Regions from separate parts of the Homo sapiens genome. Here regions 1, 2 and 3 are each linked to region 4. Evidence: promoter capture Hi-C in 16 types of primary human blood cells and fetal thymus (Javierre and others, 2016). All regions are on one chromosome and are shown on one strand. The core of a region is centred on a gene start or on the middle of the fragment in contact, and the rest is flanking DNA. Distances in the headings are between cores, read along the strand shown.

Region 1 (6,533 bases), core at 2,720-5,219, 6.0 Mb before region 4:
TAGAGACTTAGCTGTCACTATAGAAATGTATGTAAATGTCTTTGGTGAACTAGCAAATAGTGGGAACTCAAAAAAATTATTTTTTACAAAATATTTATATTTCTAATTTTGAAAGTAACACATATTAAGTGGAAAAAAATTAGAACATAATATAAAAAAGAAAATATCCCTGTGTTAATTGTGAACATTTTGAAGTAGGCCTTTCCAGGTCTCTCTTGTCCACATATACCTGTTCATGTGTGCTAGAATACAAAATGTTTCTTACATGAATCCATCTTTATATATTCATTTATTACCTTCTTTTTTAATTTAACAACATAGAGTACAGTGGGAACGTGTTTTCTGTCTATATTTATAGACCTATAGCATCATTTATTTTTGTATGAATTCACATGGCTCAAAAATTAAAACAATTTAAGAAGATGCACAGCGAAGTCTCTCCACCCCTGTTTCTATCCACCCTAACACTAAACTTCCCCTCGCCCCAACTCTTTTGTGTATGTGTGTGGCTCCTTTCAGACTGTCTTGAATAAATACAAATACAAATATATACCCTTATCCTATCTGTCTCTCCCCTCCCCTTTTTTTAATCAAAAAAGTTAGGAAACGATACATACTTTTCTGCCCCTTGGATAGAATCACTTTTAATGGCCGTTCAGTGTTCCATGGAGTGCAATACATTATATAACCAGTGATCTATTAATTTGATTTTTTCCCAGTGTTTTGAAAAAACATTGCACATATACAACACTGCACATCACATTCTTATACATCTTTATATAATTGACATGATACTAGGATAACCTTCTAGAAGTGTATTTCAGTGAGTTTGTATTTCTAAAATTTTTATGACATATCACTTAGCCATCATTCAGAAAAGCCATGCAGATTTATGCTTCCATCTATATAGTATATATACATACACGTGTTTCTGCATCTCCTCACTAATGCTATAATGTATTCTCTTTTTTTTTAAGTATTTTTAATCTTTGAAGCCTTTATGAAGGGACATGATGAAATACCACGTTAGTGTAGGCATTCTGTGGAGTTAGAAAGTATTCTGACCAATTGCTAGCGAAGAAAAGTGTATCCTTGTGACAAGGAGTTTGGCCTCTCCTTAAATTACAATACTGTGTCACTTGTAGATTTTTTTCATTGCCCAAACTTCACTTTGGCTGTGAAGACATGAACCCAGTAATATTTTCTTTTTGGACTTACTAGGAAACTAGTAACGTTTAATGAATACAGTATGTCTGAAGACTAACACATTTAGAAATTAATATTTATTGGGTACTTTGGACATCTTAATCTTTCTGTTACCATTTTGTGGTTATAATCTTAATTAAAATTCTCTTGAAATTTGCTGGCTTTATAGACAGTGTAATAAAATTATTTACAATGGCACTCTTGTATTCAGAATTTTTGCGCTCATTATAACTGAGAAGTGTGAGAGTTTGTTCAGTTAGAATTAAGTTTTATTATCTTAATACTTATTTATAAGTTACATATTATATATTATATAATAAATATTTATTATATATAATATAAATATAATATATAATAAAATATATTTTATTATATAAATATATTATTTATAATAAGATAATAATACTTTATTATCTTAATAATAAAGTTAATTGGATTAAGTGGAATGAGATTATGAATGATTTTTCTTCTTTCATGATGCAGAATTCTCCAAAACACCAGTGGGGAGAAGAGGAACCAAATTCTCAGATGGTAATACATATTTGCTGTCTCTGAGTATATGTTAAATTTTTAAATTTCTGATGGCTAATAATAAATAACACTAATAATAGCTTTTAAAGAACACAAGTAAATAAGGGTTTGGTTAAAGGGAAAGGGGAAAAAAAAGAACTACATGCTGCTTTCTTTTCTTCTTACTTTTCCTTCCTCTCCCTCTTTTAGGAAAAAGATCATAATAGTGAAGATGAGGATGAAGATAAATATGCAGATGATATTGACATGCCTGGACAGAATTTTGACTCCAAGAGACGAATTACTGTCCGGAATCTCAGGATTCGAGAAGATATTGCAAAAGTAAGTCTTGTCAGCTTAACATACATATTTGAAAAATACTTGTCTTCCCAGCATAAATTTTATCGACTCTGGGTAGCATATGGATAATATAGTCAGAGTCATTCTAAGATAAGGTTTCATTCTGTTTTTTCTCTTCACCTGAACCCCAGAAATGTATACACACATTTATTTAATTGATCATGTTCAACTCCTCCAACTAGTCTGCTGAAATCTTTTTGCTGTGAGTAAACATTAATTCTTTAAATATTTTTTTCTTCTAGTATTTGAGGAATTTAGATCCAAATTCTGCCTACTATGATCCAAAAACTAGAGCAATGAGAGAGAATCCTTATGCCAATGCAGGAAAGAATCCAGATGAGTAAGTATCAAGTTAAATGTACAGATTTTAAGATGAGAGAAAGTTAATTGTTTTCTGACCTGACCATAGATGGTGTTCATTTTAATTCAGATTCAGTTTTACGAATTAATTTTCCTTAAATCAATCTCTGAAACATTTTCTTTATTTGTATTTACAGAGTGAGTTATGCTGGAGATAACTTTGTTAGGTACACAGGAGATACCATTTCAATGGCTCAGACACAGTGTAAGTGTTTCCTCTATGTCAAGCCATTTTATATCAGCTCATAAGACGTTTGGGATTGTTTAAAGCTTGTTTTCAAGAAGCATACAGTAATGCAGCTGCCAACTCACTAAGATGTTTTGAATTACTCTAGTGTTTGCATGGGAAGCCTATGACAAGGGATCTGAAGTGCATCTACAGGCAGATCCTACAAAGCTAGAGCTGTTGTATAAGTCCTTCAAAGTCAAAAAAGAAGATTTCAAAGAACAGCAGAAAGAAAGCATCCTGGAAAAGGTAATTTTGACCAAAATGCTAAAGAAGAACTTCTGTTAAAGAGAAGTTACTAGTTAATAAGCGTTAGTTTTACATTTGGAAAATAATGCAAAGAGAGCCCTCTTAATCCATGAAGAATAGTCCTTTTCTTCCTTTCTCTTAGTCAGATGGTAATTTTGTATGAGCTTTTGCAGCAAAACAAGCTACCTCAAATCTTAATAGCTTAAAATAAACATTTATTGTTTCTCACAGTTGGCCAAGTCTCCTGGTCTGGGCTTGCTCAGCTGAGGTTAGATGATGAACTAAGATGGCCTCACTCTTGTGTTTAGCAGTTAACAGGCTAATTGTCCTAAGGGGACCTCTTCTGGGACAGCTCATCTCCACCCCATGTGGTCTTTCATCCTCTAGTAGGGTAGCACAGCTTTTTAAAATGGCATTCTCAGAGTTCTAGAGAGTGGCAGCAAAAAGTGTGCTGTGGTACATAAGTGCCTTTGCTTGCATCACATTTGCCAACTTTCATTGGTCAAAGCAAATAACATGGTCAGGCCCAGATTCAAGGGACAGAGAAAGACTTCGTCTCTTGATGGGAAGAAAAGCAAAGCCCTGTGGCAAAAGGGCATGTATAGAAAGATAAGAGGAATTTATGGCCATCTTGTAACTTACTGTACTCAACAGATGAATAGCAACTGAGACATCTTCTATTTGCCTCAGAAAAAATTTGTGGCTTTTTTTTTCCTACTGTGCTTTCTATAACAAAACCCAGTAAAGAATGTTCCCTTTCTTTCTGATTAGAAATAAATGTTTTCTGGAAATTTAAATGCAAATCAGGTTGTAAAATGTATTGAATAATGTCCAATGTCCTTTTAGTATGGTGGCCAAGAACATTTGGATGCCCCTCCAGCTGAATTGCTTTTAGCCCAGACTGAAGACTATGTGGAGTACTCAAGACATGGGACAGTCATCAAAGGACAGGAGCGGGCTGTTGCCTGCTCTAAGTATGAGGAGGATGTGAAGATCCACAATCACACAGTATGTGCTAAACTGGAACAATTTTGTGTCCTTGTTGGTTTTGCTCTGTATTGCATTTTTCCACTACAACTTTATTAGCTAACCATTTGTATTCTCTATGCTTTAAAAAAAAAAAAAAATTTTAACTGTTTCATGGAATTTTTTCAAAAATAGAAAAATTTTGAAGGAATACTATGTTCATCTATATACCCATCATCTAAATTCTGAAATTTTTAACATATTGCCTTATATGCTTTGTCTAGTTGTATGTGTGCATATGCACAGTTTTACATATATATGTAAAATACACATATATACACACATATAGTTTATGTATATATTTATTTGACTGAAACATTTGGAAATTATGTATATCATGACATTTTATCCATAAACGCTGTATCACATATCTCCTTAAAATGAGGATTTTCTTCTATATAACCACATCGACATTATTGCACTTCAGAAAATTAACATTATATCACCTAATATCTAGTCATTAATCACATTTTCCAAAATATACAGAAAAATGCCTTTAACACCTATTTTTTGTTTTAGTCAGAATTCGTTTCAAATTTCTTTTGATCGTTATGCGGTTATTATGTCTCTTTTCTAGAGTGTATCTCTTCATTTTCATGACGGTGACCATTTAACAGATTAGGCCAATTAGTTTGTAAATTGTCTCATATTCTGTATTGACTGGTTCCTAGTAGTGTTATATAACTTGTTTCTCTATCCCTGTATGTTTTATAAATAGGAATTTAGGTCTAACGGCTTGATTGGATATAAGTTAAATATTTTGACAAGAATATTTAATAAGTAATGTAGTATATTCATATTGCATTGTAAACATCATAAAGCATATATTGTCCTTTGCTGTTCTCTTGAAGTAACCAAACTACAATTGTCTCTCTTAGTTGAGGGTCAAAAACCTAACTCCCTATAGGAGCCAGACCAGTGATCATACATGAGTGAAGTGAGCCAGGCAAATTGTACAAACTGGAGAACACAAGCCCTATCTAATGGGGCATCCACTGTTCAGCAACAGCTGATTATTGCCAAGTGGTTATATAGGCCCAGAATTTCCCACTCCTACGTTTTTCAAGAGAAGTCAGATACCCTAAATTTTTTAATAGGCTTTTGGGAATAGAATTTAAGAGTTTTGTAACTACAGGTCCTGCTTCTCACACTTCAGGTCAGACTACCTTCTCCCTGTTAGCCAGCCTTGAATCCCCATAATTTTTCTCCCAAATTACCTTTAATGGGCTGTATTATTTTATACTCTTATCAACAGTATACAGAAGTTTCTAATTTCAGCTTCCTTTTTAAGCTTTTTAATTTCTCTCTCTGCAGCATATCTGGGGATCGTACTGGAAAGAAGGCCGATGGGGATACAAATGCTGTCACTCTTTTTTCAAGTATTCCTATTGTACTGGAGAAGCTGGGAAGGAGATTGTTGTAAGTAATTGTCTTTGGTTCTTAAAGGTATAAAACAACCGAAGCTCCTAAGTCAAACTAAAACATGCTGTCTCATGTTTCAAATTTTAACTTGTTCTTAGATGATTAGTAACTATGACACTCAACTCAAATTACATGTATTTCCCACAGAACTCTGAGGAGTGTATTATAAATGAGATAACTGGGGAAGAATCTGTGAAAAAACCTCAAACCCTCATGGAGGTAAGTTGATAATCATTTGTCCTGAATTTTTAAGTCCTGGAGGGAGGGCTTTAAAACCTGCACCTGAGTTTTTTTTTTTCTTTTGAAACAGAATCTCATTCTGTCGCCCAGGCTCGAGCGCAGTGCACGGTCTGGGCCCACTGCAACTTCCGCCTCCTGGGTTCAAGTGATTCTTGTGCCTCAGCCGCCCAAGTAGTGCACCTGAGCTTTGTTTTCACATTAATAACACTGCATTTCAATCCTCCCTTTCAGCTGCATCAAGAAAAACTGAAAGAGGAAAAGAAGAAGAAGAAAAAGAAAAAGAAGAAGCATCGAAAGAGCAGTTCAGATAGTGATGATGAAGAAAAGAAGCATGAAAAATTGAAAAAGGTAATTTGTGAAGTCTAAATAGTAAAAGTGACAAGTAGCAGTATTCTTTGTTTTTTGGGTTGTTTTTATTTTTTTGAGACAGGGTCTTGCTCTGTTGTCCAGGCTGGAGTGCAGTGGCACGACCGCAGCTCACTGCAAGCTCCACCTCATAGGCTCAAGCAATTCTTCTGCCTCAGTGTCCCAAGTAGCCGGTATTACAGGCACATGCCCCCATGTGCAGCTAATTTCTGTATTTTTTTATAGAGCCAGGATTTCACCATGTTGCCCAGTCTGGTCTCAAACTTCTGAGCTCAGGTGAACTGCCCACCTCATCCTCCCAAAGTGCTGGGATTGCAGGCATGAGCCACCGTTCTTGCCAGTATTATTTGTCAAGGCCTTTATTTGTAATGGCCTGTGATCTAGTCCTGTCTCCAAATGCATTTTTACAATGATGAAACAAGCCTAGAGTCTGAGTGATTTGCTCAAGTTATATTAATGGAGATATTGTGAGGTGTAGGTATTGCCTTCTTCTTGGAGTATTTAGTAATTATGACTAATGGACAGAAGAAATGTGCATTCTAAAGCATTTTAGAGTTATTGGCATGTT
Region 2 (7,010 bases), core at 4,440-6,939, 6.0 Mb before region 4:
TTAATCATGGAAGGGCAGAGGCCTTGGACAGCCCCTGGACCAAGGAATAGAAGGGCCCACCTGGGAAAGGTGTGGGAAGAGAGGCAGGCTGCCATTCTCAGGAGGGACAGGGTTTTCAGCCGTGGAGAAGAGGGTGATTCTCTACACAAGGACCTCCCCATGAGCAGAGGCCACCAGCATCGTGCAGAGCACAACAGCCAGAACGAAGCCAGCACACTTCCCATAACCAACAAGTGGCCTGTCACACGAGCAGACTCTTTTCTCCCTCCAGCCGTCCTCCCAGGCTTGGGGCTGGACTAAGCCCCTATGAGGGTCATAACACCGGAAGGGGAGAAGGGACATGTGTGGTGAGCAGAGCATACACATGGGCTTTTGCCAAGCCCTCGCCTGTACTAGGGGAGAGGGAGAAGAGCCTGAAATAGGTGTGAACCTCAAGTTTTAAAATAAGCAAAGTTTAATTTTAACCAAAAGTAACTGGAAAGCTATGAAATCTGTCTGAATGCTGCTCAGCATCACCCACCACCCAGAAAGGAGGAAAGGAGAACAGGTCAACAAAACACAGTTGGTGGCAATAAAAAAAGAAAGAAACTCAGTTTATGTTTCCCCAGCAGAGCTGGAGCTTCTCAGTAAACAGGTTATACCTGGGCTTGGTGGGGCACAGACAGACAGGTGACCAGGAACTGTCTAGGGTAGGAGAAGCTGACCTCCTAGACCTGTGCCTGCCCCCACCACTCTCTCTCTGGAAACCTTGAAGTCAGGCTCCCTGGCCCTGATACCGTGTGATGCTAACAGTGGGTACAGTGCAGTCGCTGGGTCTCTAGAAACCTGGATCCCCAGGGACTGATGACATCTTTACTCATTTCAGCAAGTCCCTGAAGCACCTGCCACATGCCAGGCAGAGAATACACCAGTGCACAGGACACACCTCATCCTGCTCCCAGTAGAGCGGAGGAGAGGACCAGACACAGCCGAGCATGGTAAGTGCAAAGGCTTCTGGTAAGAAAAGCATCTCATTGGAGTACTAGAGATGGACAGGTTTGGCCAGGTGAATCAGGACAGGAAATTACACCCCCAAGGAGCCACCACAAGGCCGTGTGAGCCACACTGAGCAACTCAGACTTCATCCTGGTGGCAGAGGGACATCATTCCAAAGTAAATGAAGTGGGGAATGAGTGCTTGATGAGCATGGGTTTATTTTTGGGGGTGATGAAAGTGTTCTGAAATTAGACAGTGGTGATAGTTGCATATACTCTGAACTAAAAGCCACTGAATTGTACATTTTTAAATGAATTTTCTTATGTGAATGTTACCTCAAAAAAAAAAAAAAGGCCGGGCATGGTGGCTCACGCCTGTAATCCAAGCACTTTGGGAGGCCAAGGCCGGCAGATCACGAGGTCAGGAGATCGAGACCATCCTGGCGAACACGGTGAAACCCTGTCTCTACTAAAAATACAAAAAAAAAAAAAATTAGCTGGGCGTGGTGGTGGGCGCCTGTAGTCCCAGCTACTCGGGAGGCTGAGGCAGGAGAATGGCATGAACCCGGGAGGTGGAGTTTGCAGTGAGCCAAGATTGCACCACTGCACTCCAGCCTGGGCGACAGAGCAAGACTCCGTCTCAAAAAAGAAAAAAAATGAAAGGAATATCTAGAAGGAACTTTCAATTCCAATCAAGATGGAGTAACAGGGACCAGATTTACTCTCCTGCCTGAAACTAAAAAACAAGACAAAATATATGAAATGAGGGCTGCCCAAAGAGTGAACATCAGGCGACAGAGAACAGCGATGCCTGAGGAATGTGAAATAAGTGAGGTGAGGCCGATGACTATCCTTACTGGCTACTTTTGAGTTTCCAGGCCTCAGAGTGGGGAAGAAAGGGAGGCAGGCAGAGCCCAGTGAATTTCCTGAGTTGAAGAGACAGAGCAGAGTCAGGCCAAGGCAGGCCAAGTTTGCAGAGCAGAGCACTGGAGAGGAGAGAGCTGCACAGAGAGAACCCTGGAAATTTGCAGAGGGTCTCCCTGTAGTATTCAGAAGAGCACTGATCCATATAGCTGAAAAGATCAGAGGGAAGAATTCCTGAAGCCCACACAGGGCTGGGAATAGTGTCTGCTCCCACCAGCTAGACAGGAAAACCTCATAATTCAGGGGGCAGCAGAGTCCTAAGCATCTCACACTTCAGTAGTAGGGGGAAATGAGCCCTGGGCTAAATGCTGCTCTGGTGATGCCTAACATTAAAGGCAAGTCTCAAATGAATCAAATTGCTTCTAGGTACCTTACCCATACTCTAGAACAAAGTTTAAGAATATTAATAGAAATGTAAAAATACCCAGCATGAAAAAAGGTAAAATCCATGGCTGGCATGGAAAGTAGAAAAATACAACTTGTAATAAGAAAGAAGAAATGGTAGCAAGATAATGGCATTCCTGACTGTTAGCTCCTACTATAAGAAGGTACAGTATCCTGAGAGGCAGGCTCAGAGGTAGTGTAGAGAAATGCAGAAGGTTTACAGAGTTGTAAAGGTATGAATAAAGTCTGTCTTATTTCAAAAAGTGTCAGAACAAAATAGCAACAACCCCCACAAGATGCAAATTATCTGTATTAATGGAGGAGCATCTGCTTAAAGTTCTCAGTCTCAGCACACATTATGCACATTGCAATCTGATTAACAGCAGATGAAAAGATCAGATCCCTCTATACTCAGTTCTGACCCAGAGGACGGCAATTAACTGGTAAGGGACTGACTAGTCCCCTTGCTCCCAGCCCTTGGTTCCCTCTACCACAAAAGACAATTTTCCAAAGCTTCAGTTTGTGTTGCAGAGTATGAAAGCCATTCAGAACTACACTTTGCTTTTTTTGTTGTTTTTGTGAGACAGCATCTCACTCTACCACCCAGGCTACTCTACCACCCACTTTACCACCCAGTGGCATGACTATAGCCACTCAAGTTGTAAGCTTGAACTCCTGGGCTCAAGCAATCCTCCTGCCTCAACCTCCTGAAACTAGGACTACAGGCATGCGCCACCACACCCGGCTAATTATTTTTAATTTTTGAGAGACAAGGGTCTCACTACATGGCCCAGGTTGAACCCAAGCTCCTGGGATCAAGCAGTCCTCCCACCTCAAACTCTCAAGTGCTGGGATTACTGGTGTGAGCCACTGTGTCCAACCTATACTTTGGTTTTCTTAGCAGCCCTATTTTACCTGAGGATGCTAAACCTATTACTCTCCCCTAAAGCCAAGTGCCCTAGTAGTCTTATGGTATTATCTTCTCCTAGAAGTCTGCCTTTCCACTAATTCCAGAAAGTCACACTGATTCAGTTGTATTTAGAAGGTAAAAAGTTTTAAAGTCAGGATAAGCGGTTGTAGGTGTTCTTAGTATTTCATGCCTAATATCCTTCAGCTTCCTCCAATGACAATGGCAAAGTGTTCACATTCTAACTTGACCATAGAAGCTACTGATATATCAAGGGAAAGACTTCTTATATAACTTAGCATCAAGCAAGGGTCAAATTCAGGTTACTACATGGCCCAAGCGAGTAAAGTGAGTTAAGTAGGCTAGGTCTCAGAAGAGACATGAAAGGTAAAAGGATCACTTCAGTTCTCACTGAGGCCATTTAAGGCAGGGTCTGTGGGATAGAAAGCCTATACTCCACCTAAAAGGCAGCAGCCTGCAATCTACCTCCAGCCCCAGCAAGTGTTGGAAACAGGGTCTACTATGGACACATCTCTTTTCAAGAGAATCTCCAAAGCCAGATTGGTGAAACACTGGAATTTTAAATAGTGGAAATGATTAAGGTTTTTAAAATATCCACCCCCTCCCTCAAAAAGAAAACCTATGAGCAACCATTTGCCATCTCTATTTTGATTCCAACCTCAGAACTGAGATCAAAATACCAGCTCTAATAATTTTCTAGCTCTTCACATCTTTGACAAATCAATGAACTTCTGCGCTTCATTGTCTTACCTGGGAAAGTGTCAAACATTAAACATAATAATGCTTCTCAAATACTCATGTCCAACACAAGGTAAACAACTAAATACAGTTTCCTATAGGTGGAGTGTAGACCTTACTATCAGTAAATTATCTCCAGTGATCTTTAAGGAATCTAATTGAAGATCCCAAGGAGGCTGAATTCTCAGATTTAGAGCCTTTCAATACTGAGTATTAAAGTCATTAGAAACTAAGTAGAACCGGCAATAAAGAATGCCCAGCAATAGATACTTAATGAGTTGGAAGTAGCTCTTCTAATTAAGAGATCTAATAACTGTCACTAGTTAATGGCCACAAAAAGTCAATAAAGTACACATTGAGGGGTATACTTTTCAGGAAAAAACAGTGGCAGCTTCTAAAATAAGCTGTTAAACCAAAAAGATTTAAGTTTTTAGACATCAGACAAATCTCTATTGTCACATTATAGACTCTTTGTTAAACACCTCAGCTAGCTTTCATGTTATTTTAAGTAACCTCCATGGAAAAGCAACCACAATACTAGGAAGAATCTGTTAAAGAATGCTTTATTAATACAAATACACACAAACTCTGAAGCACTAAGAAATTTAAATATCTATGTCACAGCAAACAGGTGGCAATTCAACATCCAGGGTCGACAGAATGCTTGAAGGAGACTGCAACAGATCTAGAAAACAGGAATCTCTTATTAAAATTTCTGCAAATCCTTGAGTCATTGTCCATATCAACATAGACATTAGCTGTCAATCAAAAATTCATGTTTTTCCCTTTGTCAAATCAATCACCTGCATCCCCTCCTGACACATTTTTTGGAATGTGTCTGTGGCCCCAGAATTGACTTTCATTAGGAAGTAAGTTTTAGAAGTATCTGAATCTCTATTGTTCTTAGAGACCAAAGTAAGAGTTAACAGTCTCACTAATGTAACTTATTAGGACAAATTATCCCACATCAGAACAAACAGAAAACATAATGTTGGCTTTGACTACCAGTTCAAACGAAGACCTCAGACCTTCTGCAGTAAGAAGTTATTGTCAGTCTATGCTACAGCACAGGTGTTTTGATCTTATATTAGCTTTGGATATAACATGGAATCATCATTCCAAGCAAGTTTATTATATATGCTTCAACTTATAGCCTAAGAAGATGTAAGTGAGAATTAATCTTTTGGCTGTAGTAAGACTATCCAGTTTCCAGAATAACAATTTTACTGGGGCATTTGGGACTGAAAAGCAATATTAATCGAGAATAGTTTATTTTTCTGAAAACTAATCCTTGTCATTTGAAGGACAGAAATTACTCACAGGCTCACCTCCCGCACAACTCTTCCCATGGTAATGGAAGTGTTATGAAACAAATTGTTTGCAGCCCTTCCAGAAGGGCACTTGCTCACTTACTGGATTCCCATGGTGGAGAGGGCATCTTCACAGGTGAAGGGGGGCCCAGCTGAAACAGCTTTTCAAGCTCTCTCTCCTCGTCAAGGATCATGAGAGGCACTCCACTCAAGGGGAGGTGCGCAATCTGGTGCTCTTCAGGCAGGTCAAAACTCTCAAAGTCTGTTACAGAGAGAAAGCGTTTTTGTCAGGGCAGCAGTTCTTAGTGTGGGCTGTAGATCCCTTGTGGTCTGAGACCCTTTGAGGGGGTCCATGAGGTCAAAACTATTTTCAAGACAATATTCACACCTTTTTCCACTGGGTTGACATTTGTAATGATGGTACCAAGGCAGCGGTGGAGAAAGCTGCTGGTGCCTCAACACAAATCAAGGCAGTGACAGTAAACCATATTAGCAGTCTCTCTGTTCTGCATCCTTCTTCGCTTGTAGTTTAAAAATGCCAGTTTCACTTACTGTCACTTCACCATATGCAGTAGAAAGTATTAATTTTATTAGCTCTCCATCCTTGAGATGTCTTTTTAATGTTCTGTGTGATAAAATGAGAAGTATGCCATAAAGCACTTCCACTGTACACCAAAATACGATTAAAAGGATTTGTGCAACTATATGAGTTGCAAGCTAAAACTAGAGAACATTTTCCTGGAATACTGTTTTTACTTGAATTAACAACTGCAAGAAATCCCATGGTCACTCAGACCTGGGTGCTTGTCACACTTTTTCTTAAAGGAATGAAAGAAGTCTATCACCTCAAGGAAAACTGACAGCCTTTGTTGCCAATGGCAGAATATAAAACGTTAAAATTTTGTCAAAAATTAAAAAATGAATATTTTTTTTTTGAGACAGAGTCTCACTCTTTCACCTAGGCTGCAGTGCAGTGGCACAATCTCCGTTCACTGCAACCTCTGCCTCCTGGGTTCAAGCGATTCTCCTGCCTCAGTCTCCCAAGCAGCTGGGATTACAGGTGCGCCCACCACACCCGGATAATTTTTGTATTTTTAGTACAGACGGGGTTTCACCATGTTGGCCAGGCTGGTCTTGAACTCGTGACCTCAGGTGATCCGCCCGCCTTGCCTCCCAAAGTGCTGGGATTACAGGCGTGAGCCACTGCATCTGGCCAAAAAAAGGAATTTTGGAAAACTTATCTGCAGTCATTAGCTTGACAGGTGCTTAGACTTTTCTGATGAGATCAGTTGTGGTATTAATGTGCTTTTGATATTGTATAATAAAGCATCTCAACATGTGGGTATCTACATATCTCAGTGAACCAGTATTTCTGAATGGTCAATGCAAGATAGATGCAAGAATATAAGATACATTCCAAGTGCAAAATAGACCAATGGATTTTACTGTCAAGATACAAAATGCTCATTGATACGGTTTCAGATTCCACATTGCAATTTTATATTCAGAAACAGCCACTTGTGGGTTTTAGTGTAGTGGCAAAAAAACCTATCCACACTTATCTGAAAAGACTATTAAAAACGTATCTGTGTGAAGCCAGGTTTTCTTCGTATATTTTAACAGATGTAAGAGTGAATATAGAATTTGATAAGAATCCAGTTGTCTTGTATTAAGCCAAATAAAGCAAATTTTCAAAAATATAAACCATGCCATTCTTCTCCAAACTTTTCCAGAACAAAAAATATTTTATGT
Region 3 (6,080 bases), core at 862-3,361, 5.7 Mb before region 4:
GTAGCTGGGACTACAAGCTTCCGCCACCACGCCTGGCTAATTTTTTTAAAAAATATTTTTAGTAGAGACGGAGTTTCACTGTGTTAGCCAGGATGGTCTCGATCTCCTGACCTTGTGATCTGCCCGCCTTGGCCTCCCAAAGTGCTGGGATTACGTAAAGGCGTGAGCCACCAAGCCTGGCCCACTTTTTTTTTTTTGAGACGGAATCTCACTCTATTGTGAGGCTGGAGTGCAGTGGCATGATCTCGGCTCACTGCAACCTCTGCCTCCCGGGTTCAAGGGATTCTCCTGCCTCAGCCTCCCACGTAGCTGGGGCTACAGGCATGTGCCACCACACCGGCTAATTTTTTTGTATTTTTGGTAGAGACGGTGTTTCACCATGTTGGCCAGGATGGTCTCGAACTCCTGACCTCGTGATCTGCCTGCCTTGGCCTCCCAAAGTGCTGGGATTATAGGCGTGAACCACCGCACCCAGCAGCATCCCACTTTTAACACTGAAAGTCCTGCATGCCAGGAAACCCCTCAGTCCCAGGCAAACCAAATGGTTCACCTAGAACCACCCCCTCCACAGTGGTGCCTGTGGGGTCAATTTTTGAGGAATTATGTTGACATGGGAATTGTTAGGAATATACAAAGAAAAAGGGGGAGCTGTGTGAAAGGACACCCGAAGACTATGGGCAAAATGTTTCAGGATAGGACCCACATTTTATTACTTGATTCCCCCAAGCTCATCTGGTGGCTGTCTCTGCCTGACACATAGTGCTCATAAATGGCTGGATTAATGTTGGCTCTTATTATGGAGATTGTCCTTAATATTGAAATTTACCTTTGTAATATGATGGCTCTTTCACCTGTGGTGTGAAGTGAGAATCTGTTATCAGAAGCAGGTGGTAAGGGATGTGTGGTATCCATATAGAGCAGGAAGTTTTATTTATTTATTTATTTATTTATTTATTTATTTATTTGAGATGGAGTTTCGCTCTTGTTGCCCAGGCGGGAGTGCAATGGCGTGATCTTGGCTCGCCACAACCTCTGCTTCCTGGGTTCAAGCGGTTCTCCTGCCTCAGCCTCTCAGTAGCTGGGATTACATGCGCCCACCACCACGCCTGGTTAATTTTTGCATTTTTAGTAGAGATGGGGTTTCACCATGTTGGCCAGGCTGGTCTCGAACTCCTGATCTGAGGTCATCTGCCTGCCTCAGCCTCCCAAAGTGCTGGGATTACAAGCATGAGTCACCGTGCCCAGCCCATTTGAAATCTTTTGTTTTCATTTCTTCAAACTTTTAAGTTGTGTGGTATCAGTTTCTGAAATTGCTCTCAGTGATCCCTGCCTCTTGGCATACATGCCCTTGTGGAATCCTCTCTCCTTGTAAATAGCTGGACCTGGTGACTTGCTTCTGAACAGAGTGCAGCAAAAGTGCTGGGATGCCTCTTCTGAGATCACACGACAAAATACTGCGACTTCTTTCTTGCTTACACCAATTTTTCCTCTGGCTCTTCTTGTATGCTTACTCTGACAAAGCAAGTTGCATGTTTTGAGCTGTCCTATGGAGCAGACCCACGTGGCAATTAGTTGAGGGCAGCCTCTGGTCAACAGCCACCAAGGAACTGAATCCTATAAATCAGGGGTGTCCAATCTTTTGGCTTCCCTGGGCCACACTGGAAGAAGAAGAATTGGGCCACACATAAAATACACTACACTAACAAAAGCTGAAGAACAACGACAACAACAACAACAACAACAACAACAACAAAAAACACCACAAAAAAAATCTCATAACGTTTTAGGAAAGTTTACAAATTTGCGTTAGGCTGCGTGTGGCCCATGGGCCGCTGGTTGAACAAGCTTGCTGTAGATGAAAATGTGAGTTACCTTGGAAATGGACTTTCAAAATACATATGCCCAAATATAAATATTTTGGAAGAAATTTATCATAAGGAATTGGATCACTTGATTGTGGAGGCTGAGAAGTTGCGTAAACTGCCATGTGCAAGCTGGGGACCCAAGAAAGCCTGGTGTTATTCCAGTCCAGGTCCAAATGCCTGAGAATCTGGGGAGTTGATGATGTACATCCCAGTACAAGGACAGGAGCAGACTAATGTTCCAGCTCCAACAGGCAGGCAGGCAGGCAGCAAAAGAAGTGAATTCCTTCTTCCTCTGCCTTTTGCTCTATTCAGCCTCTCAACAGATTGGATGATGCCCACCCACACTGCTGAGGGCCATCCACTTTACTGAGTCCACTGATTCAAATGCTAATCTCATCTAGAAACATTCTCTCAACACCCCAGAAATATGGTTTAATCTGGGTACCCCTTGGCTCAGTCAAACTGGTACGTAAAATTAATCATCATATGGATCCTTCCCTAGTTAAGCTTTCAGATGAAACCACACCCCCAGCTGACACCTTGATATGTAGCCTTGTGAGAGACTGAAAGAGAGGATTTTGCTGGGCACAGTGGCTCATGCCTGTAATCCTAGCACTTTGGGAGGCTGAGGCAGGTGGATCACAAGGTCAGGAGATCGAGACCATCCTGGCTAAGATGGTGAAACCCTGTCTCTACTAAAAATACAAAAAAATTAGCCAGGCATTGTGGCGGGCACCTTTAGTCCCAGCTACTTGGAAGGCTGAGGCAGGAGAATGGCATGAGCCCAGGAGGCAGAGCTTGCAGTGAGCCGAGATCGTGCCACTGCACTCCAGCCTGGGTGACAGAGCGAGAATCCGTCTCAGGAAAAAAAAAAAAGAAGAGAGAGGACTTAGTTAAGCCTTGCCTAGGTTTCTCACTCTGAGCATGGTGATGAAATAAATGTATGTTGTTAAGACACTAATACCACTAGCAGATATAGATAACTGATATAAATTTACTTACAGAAAAGTACACGTAAGTGCAGAGCTTGATGAATCATTACAAGCTGAACATACTTGTGTATCCAGTACCCAGATCAAGAATCAGAAATTATCAGAACCCCAGAAAGCACCATTCATATTCTCTTTCCGTCACTAGCTGTGCTGCTCCCCATCATCTCCTATCAAGAGTAACCCCCATCCCGACTTCAAACAGCATAAATTTGTTTTGTTTGGTTTTGTACCATATATAAATAGTATCGGTCAGGTACAGTGGCTCATGTCTGTAATCCCAGCACTTTGGGAGGCCAAGGTGGGCAGATCACTTGAGGTCAGGAATTCAAGACCAGCCTGGCCAACATGGTGGAACCCTGTTTCTACTAAAAATACAAAATACAAAAATTATCCAGGCGCGGTAGCAAGCACCTATAATCCCAGCTACTCGGGAGGCTGAGGCGTGAGAATCACTTGAACCCAGGGGCTGGAGGTTGCAGTGAGCTGAGATCACACCACTGCACTCTAAACTGGGTGACAGAGCAAGACTCTGTCTCAAAAAAAAAAATCATATAATATGCACAAAATAACTTTTTAGCAGATTCTCAGAGAGTTCCCCCTATACATGATACATTCAGAACTACTGACTGACACACACACACACACACAGAGGCAGAGGCAGAGATGACAAATGACATATTTGTCATTAGTTACCCATCACAGCCTTGGTCTGGGAGCAGGTGATCTAATTCCAGAAGATAATTTTTTATTTTTTTTATTTTTTTTTTTTATTTTGAGACAGAGTCTTGCTCTGTTGCCCAGGCTGGAGTGCAATGGCGTGATCTTGGCTCACCACAACCTCTGCCTCCCCGGTTCAAGTGATTCTCCCATCTCAGCCTCCTGAGCAGCTGGGATTATAGACACCCACCACCACGCCCGGCTAATTTTTGTATTTGTAGTAGAGACGGGGTTTCACCATGCTGGCCAGGCTGGTCTCAAACTCCTGACCTCAGGTGATCCACCTGCCTCAGCCTCCCAAAGTGTTGGGATTACAGGCGTGAGCCACCACGCCTGGCCTAGAAGAGAAATATTGATTACCTCATCAGAAATAGGCCCAGAACACGAGGAGCAATTCACTCAGCCCCTATGGTTTGATGGCCATGTTCCCCATGTTATCTTCTGTCTATAATTCTATTTCCTGAGAAACCAGGCCCAGAGATAACCACTAAGCCATATTTAGCCATAGTTATTCCTCTCCAGGGACCAATACCCTTGTGTTTGGGTTTTTACTTAGACTTACTCAAGTTTGGTTATTGAGGATCAGCACCCCTTGAGTATGATCAACCACAGATACAAGAATGAGTTTTTGGACTTAGTTGCTAACAACTATTGAACTATTTTTGCTATAATTGAAGGTCTACGCTAATTATTTATATATGTTACATAAATAAAAAAGCAGACCAGGCTGGGTGCAGTAGCTCATGCCTATAACCCCTGCACTTTGGGAGGCTGAGGTGGGCAGATCACCTGAGGTCAGGAATTTGAGACCAGCCTGGCCAACATGGAGAAACCCCATCTCTACTAAGAATACAAAAAGTAGCTGTGCATGGTGGTGGGCACCTGTAACCCCAGCTACTTGGGAGGCTGAGGCGGCAGAATCACTTGACCCTGGGAGGTGGAGGTTGCAGTGAGCTGAGATCGTGCCACTGCACTCCAGCCTGGGTGACAGAGTGAGACTGTCTCAAAAAAAAAAAAAAAAAAAAAAAAAAAAGAGAGAGAGAGAAAGAAAAGAAAAAAAACAGACCGGGTGCAGTGGCTCATGCCTGTAATCCCAGCATTTTGGGAGGCTGAGGTGAGCAGATCACTTGAGGTCAGGAGTCTGAGACCAGCCTGGCCAACATGGTAAAACCCCATCTCTACTAAAAATACAAAAAATTAGTTGAGCATGATGGTGGGTGCCTGTAATTCCAGCTACTCTGGTAGCTGAGGTATGAGAATTGCTTGAACCTGGGAGGTGGAGGTTGCAGTGAGCTGAGGTTGTACCACTGCACTCCAGCCTGGGCGACAGAGCAAGACTCAGCCTTGAAAAACAAAACAAAAACCCCCCTAGTAATCTCTATTGGTAAGTAGTTATTATTAAGATGTTTTACAAATGAGGAAATAGGTTAAGTGATTTGCCTAAGATCATGCTCAGATCATATAGGTAGTCAGAGGATGACTGGGGAGTCAGATACAGTTTTATTTATTTTTTTATTATTTATATTATTTTATTTATTTATTTATTTATTTATTTATTTATTTATTTATTTATTTATTGAGACGGAGTCTCGCTCTGTTGCCCAGGCTGGAGTGCAGTGGCACGATCTCGGCTCACTGCAAGCTCCGCCTCCCGGGCTCATGCCATTCTCCTGCCTCAGCCTCCAGAGCAGCTGGGACTACAGGAGCCTGCCACTACGCCTGGCTAATTTTTTGTATTTTTAGTAGAGATGGGGTTTCACCATGTTAGCCAGGATGGTCTCGATCTCCTGACCTTGTGATCTGCCCGCCTCGGCCTCCCAAAGTGCTGGTATTACAGGCGTGAGCCACCGCGCCCGGCGCTATTTTTTATTTTTATTTTTTGAGACGGAGTCTTGCTCAGTCACCCAGGCTGGAGTGCAGTGGCACGATCTCGGTTCACCATAACCTCCACCTCCAGGGTTCAAGCAATTCTCCAGTAGCTGGGACTACAGGTGCATGCCACCATGCCTGGCTAATTTTTGTATTTTTAGTAGAGACAGGTTTTCACCATGTTGGCCAGGCTGGTCTCGAACTCCTGACCTCAGGTGATCCATCCACCTCGGCCTCCCAAAGTGCTGGGATTACAGGCGTGAGCCACCATGCCTGGCTTATTTTTTTTTTTTTGAGACGGAGTTTCGCTCTTGTTGCCCAGGCTGGAGTGCAATGGCGCGATCTTGGCTCACTGCAACATCTGCCTCCTGAGTAGTTCAAGCAATTCTCTTGCCTCAGCCTCCTGAGTAGTTGGGATTACAGGCATGCACCACCACTTCCAGCTAATTTTTTTTAGTAGAGATGGGGTTTCACTGTGTTGGCCAGGCTGGTCTTGAACTCCTGACCTCAGGTGATCCACCAGCCTCGGCCTCCCAAAGTGCTGGGATTATGGGCATGAGCTACCGCGCCTGGCTTTATTTTTTATTTTTGAGAAAGCATCTCACTCTGTTGCCCAGGCTGAAGTGTAGTGGTAAAA
Region 4 (6,583 bases), core at 1,838-4,337:
GCCTGTGAGAAAGAAATAGAATCCCTTTCAGAAATAATGACTCCACAACACCACCTTAAAACAAATTTTGAGTGATTCCACCTGGAAACCTTACTACCTCAGAAGTATTACATTTTGGGAACACTAATGCTAGGCTCAGGCTGCCCTTCTTCTAGACAGTGTGTGTGAAATGATCAGCATAGCTCAACACAGGTTTTCCAGTACAGTCAATGGGTAAATAAAAGGAGTCCCAGTTGCAGCAGCAAAATCATTCAGATGGGAAGGCATCCAGTGATCTAAAAGGACTGGAAGATTCTTTTAAGGACTGGAAATTATTATTATAAGCTGCTCAAGTAAAGCAGCTTCTAACAACCTACACGGAAGGTAGGCAGTGTTTCTAAGTGGATGAATTCATTGCCATAAGCATTTCACCTCAACGTGTGACCTAAGGAGGGATCACCTTGGTGTCTAGACCCTTGTTTGTTCTCAGATATTTCCATTCATGCATTCATTGATAGAGATTTGTAGTAAGAAAGCCATTAACTCTCTCCCAACCACTTAAAAATAGCACCTGTCCATGCAAGAGCTGCAACTGTATTATAATGATTAACTTAAAAATGGGGGTAGGAGGGAAGAGTCTGAAGAAAGGACAGGGGCTGGGCGCAGTGGCTCACGCCTGTAATCCCAGAACTTTGGGAGGCCTAGGCGGGTGGATCATTTGAGGTCAGGAGTTCAAGACCAGCCTGTCCAACATGGCGAAACCCTATCTCCATTAAAAATACAAAAATCAGCCAGGCATGGCGGCAAACGCCTGTAATCCCAGCTATTCAGGAGGCTGAGGCAGGAGAATCGCTTCAACCCGGGAGGCGGAGGTTGCAGTGAGTCGAGATCTTGCCACTGCACTCCAGCCTGGGTGACAGAGTGAGACTCCGTCTCAAAAAAAAAAAAAAAAAAAAAAAAGAAAAAGAAAAAAAAAAGAAAAGAAAAAGGACAGGGGAGATTTTTTATTTATTAGAGACTTAATGAAGACTTATGTATAGGGCTTGGAAGTAAATTAGATAATATCTTTAAGAAATTAACCAGCCTCTTAGGTGCTGTGTGTACCTGACACCCTCACTTCCTATCTCTGGGCCTGTTTCAACCCTAAAATCAGAGGGGAAACGTGCACTCCCTTTCAGTTTAACAAGCAGTCTCTGATTTCCTCCAACTGTGGAGAAATTCTGATTCTAGAAGAGAATGGATGTTAACCACCTAAGCTCTTAGCTAGTCTACCTGAATATTAAATATCCCCTTAACTCATTTCCAATTCCTAATCATGAAGCAATCACTTAAGGCTTGTAGCAACAGATGTCAAACTAAAAAGTTCTTAATTGGTTGACAATAGGCACAGCTTCAGAATTGTTAACTAGAAGTGGTGAAGTCACACGGGAGGAGTTTCCTATAATAAGCCACAAAGAGCAGGGCAATCCGATTTAAATTTAAATATCCACCCCCTTATTTCAAAAGAAACTACCACTAAGAAAATTGATTTCTTTTCTTCCCCCCTCCAGTCACATCGACTGCAAGAGCCATTTCTCAAGACCTGGCCTTGGCCTTATTTCTGCCACATCCTAGAAAAACCCATTCCCACAGCTGCCTGCGAAGCAGCTAGCTCGGTGACCCTCTGCTGATACCGAGGATGCGGGAGCCAGGGAAGTAACTGCCACCTTTCTCTGTCTGAAGGAATAACAGGGTTCCTAGAAGGAGAGAGAAGTTGGAAAAGAGCCGGGTATCTTCATCACTCCCCGCTCCGATTCTTGCTCCTTCAAGGGCCAACAAAACTAACCCACCTCTCCCTGCTCTAAAGTCTAAACCAATAAAACAAGTTGGAAACTGCTGTCCAATCTTTCCAGGCAGCAGGAGTCCTGAAGCCCCCGCCCCCATCCTCCCGGATCTGGGTAGAATCACAGTCAGAGCATGTCAGCGCTGGAGCGGCCTTTGAAATGCGGAGTCCAACTCAGTTCTGCAGAGCCGGGGCGGCGAGGCCCACGGCGGGGAGTGCCCGGGGAGTCCCGACTGGAGCCCAGGGCAGCGGACGGAGAGCTGGGGGCGCCGGGGCCCAGACGCGAGCGGGGGCGGACTCACGCTCTTGTCGATGTCCAGCTTGAGTTTCTTCTGCGAGATGCTCTTCTGGACCCTCTTGCTGAAGGAGGCGTTGCCCGCGGGCCGGACGCAGCGCTCGCCGTCCTCGATGAGGCAGCAGCTCTGGCCGTAGCCCGGGGCGGCGGCAGCTGGGGCGGCGGGGGGCCCTTCGCGGCTGTCCTCCTCCGTGCTGAAGCCGTTCATCTCCCCGCCCCGGGCCGGTCCCTCTGGGGGAGGGTCCCCGGTAGGCCACTCCGCGGCCGCGCTTGCCGCGGGGCAGGTCGCTGAGACCCCCGCAGCCGAGGGTCCCAGAGTCCGTCTCCAGCCCGGGCGCTGCCCTGCCCCGCGTCCGAGAGGCCCGGCTCCCTCGGCCCCCGGCCCTCCGCCTCCGGAAGCCCCCTTCCTCCCGGCTCGAGGCCCCGGGGTCGGCTCCCGCGGCTCGCAGGGCCCCGCCGGGGGTCACCCGGAGGAGCCTTCTGCCGGGGGCCCAGAACCGTAACCCTGCAGCGGGGGTGTCCGGGAGGGCGTCCCAGGAAACAGCCGCTCCCCAAGGACTCCGGGCCTGGGTTGCCAGGGGGTTTCGAAGGCCCCTGCCGGCTCCCGCCTTCTTTCGGCAGCGGGGCAAACTCGCTGCCGGGCAGCTCCCCCGGGGTGGCGCGGCCTCCTCGCGCGGGGCCCGGCCTCGAACCCGCGGCACCCGGGCCCCGCGGCTCGTCCGGCCCACTCCACCCCTGCAGCCACTCGGCTGCGCCCCGAGTCCCGCGGCAGCCCCTGGGCCGCCCGGCCGCCGCCCGCCGAACGCTCCGCACCACAACAGTTCGCTCCCCCCGCCCTTCGCGGGACAGCGGAAGTCCCGCCTTCACGCGACCATTGGTCTCATTTGCTCTCTGGGCGGGGCTGCCGCCGCCGCTGGCGCGTCCCATTGGGCGTCGCCGCCGCCAGTCTCCGGCGCCAGGCTACTTCCTGGACTCTGCTGGGATGGGTTCAAAGTAGAGAAAGTGGAAGAGGAAAGAGTTACCCCAGCGAGAACCGGGAACCGGGCTGCAGACTCTCCGGCCCGGGGGAGGGATGGTGAGCAGGGGCCTGGCTGGACCGAGGGCCAGACTCCAGGAACAGAGGAACACATTCGGGGACAGACAGTAGAGACGCGGACGGGGACGCTGAGGGACAGACTTGGAGGAGGGGCATATGAGGGGACCTAAAGAGGATAGAGGTGCTATCAGGAGAGGGGCGGACTAATAAAATGAAAGGGCCAGGGCCAGAGGACTCGCGGATCCGTGGGAGGAAGGGTGGGTGAAATAGGACGGAAAGCCAGTCATGGCGGGAAAGACAGAGGGACAACCCCATACAGATACGTGGAAAGACATGCGGAGGAGGTGATGGGGGGATCTTGCAAGGCAGTCGCAATATTGGGGGTAGCCGATACCTTCCAGAGTGTGGAGAGTGGGACTGGCTTGGACGGCGCGGAAAGAAAAGGAGAGGGGGAAAGGAGACCCCGAGGGGTTTGGGCGACCCCTCCACTGGGAAGAATGGGAAGTCCGAATGAGGTCTGGAGGGTGGACTAGGTGAGCCGCGGGCAAGAGAAAGGGCTTCAGGGGAGATGAAGTGAAGGCTGGGAGTGGGGCCCAGGGGCCAATCTCGGAATCTAGATGGGGAAGGGCTGCGGTGTCTTGGGCTCTCCCTGGAGCTCCAAGCTGTAGTTCTATTGCTTTGAGTCCCCGGGTCTACCGGCGAAGCGACTGCGCCCTGCCAAGACCCTGCGCTTGGTTTCGGCGCCCAGGGCACCACCTCCCCTCCAGGAGGGGCCGTAGGATATGCTCTGGTCCAGCACTTCAGTCATGCCACTCTCCAACTGCGCAGCATGGGGACTGATGAGGTCCGAAAGGCGATGGGACCAGCCCAGGGTCGTGTAATTATGTAGGGCTGGGCAGCGTTTTATGGGCAGGGAAGAGGGGAGGCTGTGTTAGGTGATAGGTAAGCAAGTGTTAGTACTAGAGGGCATAGAAGGAGCTTCGGGTTTGTGTCCTGTTGTAAAAGGGAAAGCTACCAGTTTCCATGTTTAGAAGCAGGTGGCTGGTGATCTTAAGTTTTGCTCAGTGGCCATAAATGCATTTGTAGCATCTGAACTGGTAATTTCACACGTGGGACAGCCATCGTCGGAAATAGGCCTATCAGAGATAATATGAAGTACAGTGATGTTCATTATGGAATTATTTATAATAGGAAAAATAAAATAGAACCTCAGAGTTCCAAAAGGGAAGTGGTTAAGTAAACTACCTAAAATCTTCAGAAAGAGATTGTGCAGTTAGCATTTGAGGTAGTTTCAACATCAATGTAAACATTTTCTATAGAGAATAATTCACCATTAATTCTTAAATAAAGAGCTGATGAGGAGTTGGAGAAATGCTTTTTTTATGATAAGTAAAAAAATTCAGGATATGAAATTGCATGGAGGATACGATGTCTGTACATCTATGTTTAAAGAAAAAAGAAAACTATTGGTATAAAAAATGCACCAAAGTACTAACAGTGATTATTTCTGGGTAGCAGGAATATGGCTGATATTTTTCTCCTTTTGTTTAACCTTTGCATTTTCTTTAATAAGCATTATTTTTGTTTTTACAGTAGAAAAAATAGAATAAAAATTAATGGAAAAAAGGCACAGATTAATAGGAGTCTTCCCTCAGAGTTCATATATTCTGTTCAAAAGTAAATTGTTGTTGAACTCATTATGTATACCAAGTATAGGGTTGGCTATAGGAGGAGGATGAAACATAACCCTTGCCCTAAAAGAATATCTCCTATCTGGGGTGTTCAGACATATATGTAGAAAACACTTGGGTATCTGTACCAGGCACTGTGTGATGTTGGGTCCAAAGTCAGTTGGTATGGATGAAACCTCCATGTTCCCCATATTTTTCTAAACAGCATTTGTATTCAATGCTAGGCTATTGCGGTACACAACTTCTTCTGCACCAACTTGCCCTGGTCTAAGGGGATCTAGGACCTTTTCTTAGGTGCTCTGTCTCAGTCCTTGAGGTAGTGGCTACTTATATCTGCTATTCTTGTATTATTTAGCATTCTTTTTTCTTTTTACTAGGCAGTTCCTTATAACTGTAGGGGACTACAGTCCCCTATTATAATTAATACATGTTTATATTATTATTTTCCTGTTCAAATTACTGTAAGGTTACTCTTTCCTGATTACACCCAGCCTGATACGCCCAGCCAGCCTCTGTGTGTGTGTGTGTGTGTGGTGGTGGTGGTGGGGGAGTTCATGCTTGTAACTGTTCTTTTTTTTTCTTTTTTCTTTTTTCTTTTGAGACAGAGTTTCACTCTGGTTGCCCAGGCTGGAGTGCAATGGCGCGATCTCGGCTCACCGCAACCTCTGCCTCCCGGATTCAAGCGATTCTCCTGCTTCAGCCTCCCGAGTAGCTGGGATTACAGGCATGTACCACTGCTCCCGGCTAATCTTGTATTTTTAGTAGAGATGGGGTTTCTCCATGTTGGTCCGGCTGGTCTCGGACTCCCAACCTCAGGTGATCTGCCCGCCTCGGCCTCCCAAAGTGCTGGGATTACGGGTGTGAGCCACCGCTCCCAGCCATTCTTTATGTATAATTTTGTAGTCTTTATTCAAGGCATACTTTATCATAATCTTTCCCCATATTGCTATGTAGTTTTCACAGTTGCCATTTTTTATGTAGTACAGTGCAGTTTCTGTAGTACAGTACACTGTGGTGCTAAAGACAGTTGGCTTTGCTGTCAGAACTGGGTTCAGATCTGGACTCCACCCATGACTTGTTATAACATGTTAGCAATTATTTCACTTCTTGAGTCTGATGAAATAGGTGGTGACAAATTCTTAACACAGTGCCTAGAACATCATAAGTGGTTAATAAATGTCAGCTATCATGATTCCTACCGTAGTTACATTTGCCCCCCCAGAAGTTGGATATCTTTTTTGTGTGGTTCTGTATAATTATTTTTGAACATAAAACTTTTTATTATTTAGGATTATTATTTTTTCTGAGTGCCAGAGATGGAATTGTGGTCAAAGACTACAAAGTTTTCCAAGGTCTAAGGGCCAGGCTCACTGACCCTTTTTTTCTTTCCTGTCTTTTCTGCCCCTGCCCTCCCCACCTTCATTCCTTCCATCCAGTCAGGCCCCAGTTGAGAAGTTATCCCCCAACACGCCTTAAAGAATCAGAGTTGGATACCTTGGCCAAGCAGTCACAGTCCTACAAAAGCTCTTTGCTCTCCTCTTTCTCTCCTCTTTTCCCTTTTTGGGGAATGTGGCATATGGCTCTGGGAGTGATTTCCAATGACTGCCCTTCTTTGGGAACAGGTGGACACTTAGGTGTCCAGTGACTGGGTTTCTAATCCTTGAGTGGCCCCTGATTGTCTAATAGTGAATACTTGCTGGGTTAAGCCTGTGGCTCAAACTGTACTGGTCAGTTTCTCTCCAGCAAATCTGCTGGTTGGA

What was found. Contacts are between HindIII fragments. The CHiCAGO score rates a contact against its expected background, and 5 or more counts as called.
Region 1: a contact is called between a fragment that was not itself captured here and the fragment with the promoter of SAP30L-AS1 in region 4, in 1 of 17 cell types (total CD4 T cells). The highest score is 6.3, in total CD4 T cells.
Region 2: a fragment that was not itself captured here is called in contact with the fragment with the promoter of SAP30L-AS1 in region 4 in 1 of 17 cell types (total CD4 T cells); the score reaches 6.5 in total CD4 T cells.
Region 3: a contact is called between a fragment that was not itself captured here and the fragment with the promoter of SAP30L-AS1 in region 4, in 1 of 17 cell types (non-activated CD4 T cells). The highest score is 9.5, in non-activated CD4 T cells.

What each region holds. Positions count from the first base shown.
Region 1 is chr5:160,403,854-160,410,386 of GRCh38, reverse strand. It overlaps SLU7 (spliceosome associated SLU7), which reads left to right. Exons shown (of 16, transcript NM_006425.5): 7 at 1,690-1,737; 8 at 1,927-2,058; 9 at 2,319-2,416; 10 at 2,574-2,641; 11 at 2,772-2,911; 12 at 3,758-3,919; 13 at 5,252-5,356; 14 at 5,507-5,578; 15 at 5,831-5,947. Among named protein-coding and RNA genes, the nearest start is that of FAM200C, 7.1 kb to the right of the region's middle. RefSeq lists a silencer at 5,398-5,598. The HindIII fragment of the contact is 2,522 bases long and covers 2,709-5,230 here.
Region 2 is chr5:160,426,225-160,433,234 of GRCh38, reverse strand. It overlaps PTTG1 (PTTG1 regulator of sister chromatid separation, securin), which reads right to left. Exons shown (of 6, transcript NM_004219.4): 5 at 5,362-5,520; 6 at 4,496-4,633. The coding sequence ends at 4,554. Among named protein-coding and RNA genes, the nearest start is that of PTTG1, 7.9 kb to the right of the region's middle. RefSeq lists an enhancer at 716-805. The HindIII fragment of the contact is 5,478 bases long and covers 2,951-7,010 here.
Region 3 is chr5:160,123,681-160,129,760 of GRCh38, reverse strand. No RefSeq gene overlaps it. Among named protein-coding and RNA genes, the nearest start is that of PWWP2A, 7.3 kb to the right of the region's middle. The HindIII fragment of the contact is 527 bases long and covers 1,848-2,374 here.
Region 4 is chr5:154,442,326-154,448,908 of GRCh38, reverse strand. SAP30L-AS1 (SAP30L and GALNT10 antisense RNA 1) reads left to right here and starts at 3,087. Exons shown (of 3, transcript NR_037897.1): 1 at 3,087-3,171; 2 at 5,429-5,547. It overlaps SAP30L (SAP30 like), which reads right to left and starts at 2,912. Exons shown (of 4, transcript NM_024632.6): 1 at 2,104-2,912. The coding sequence starts at 2,304. RefSeq lists silencers at 2,269-2,378, 2,509-3,038 and enhancers at 2,615-3,115, 3,169-3,288. The HindIII fragment of the contact is 8,481 bases long and covers 1-6,583 here.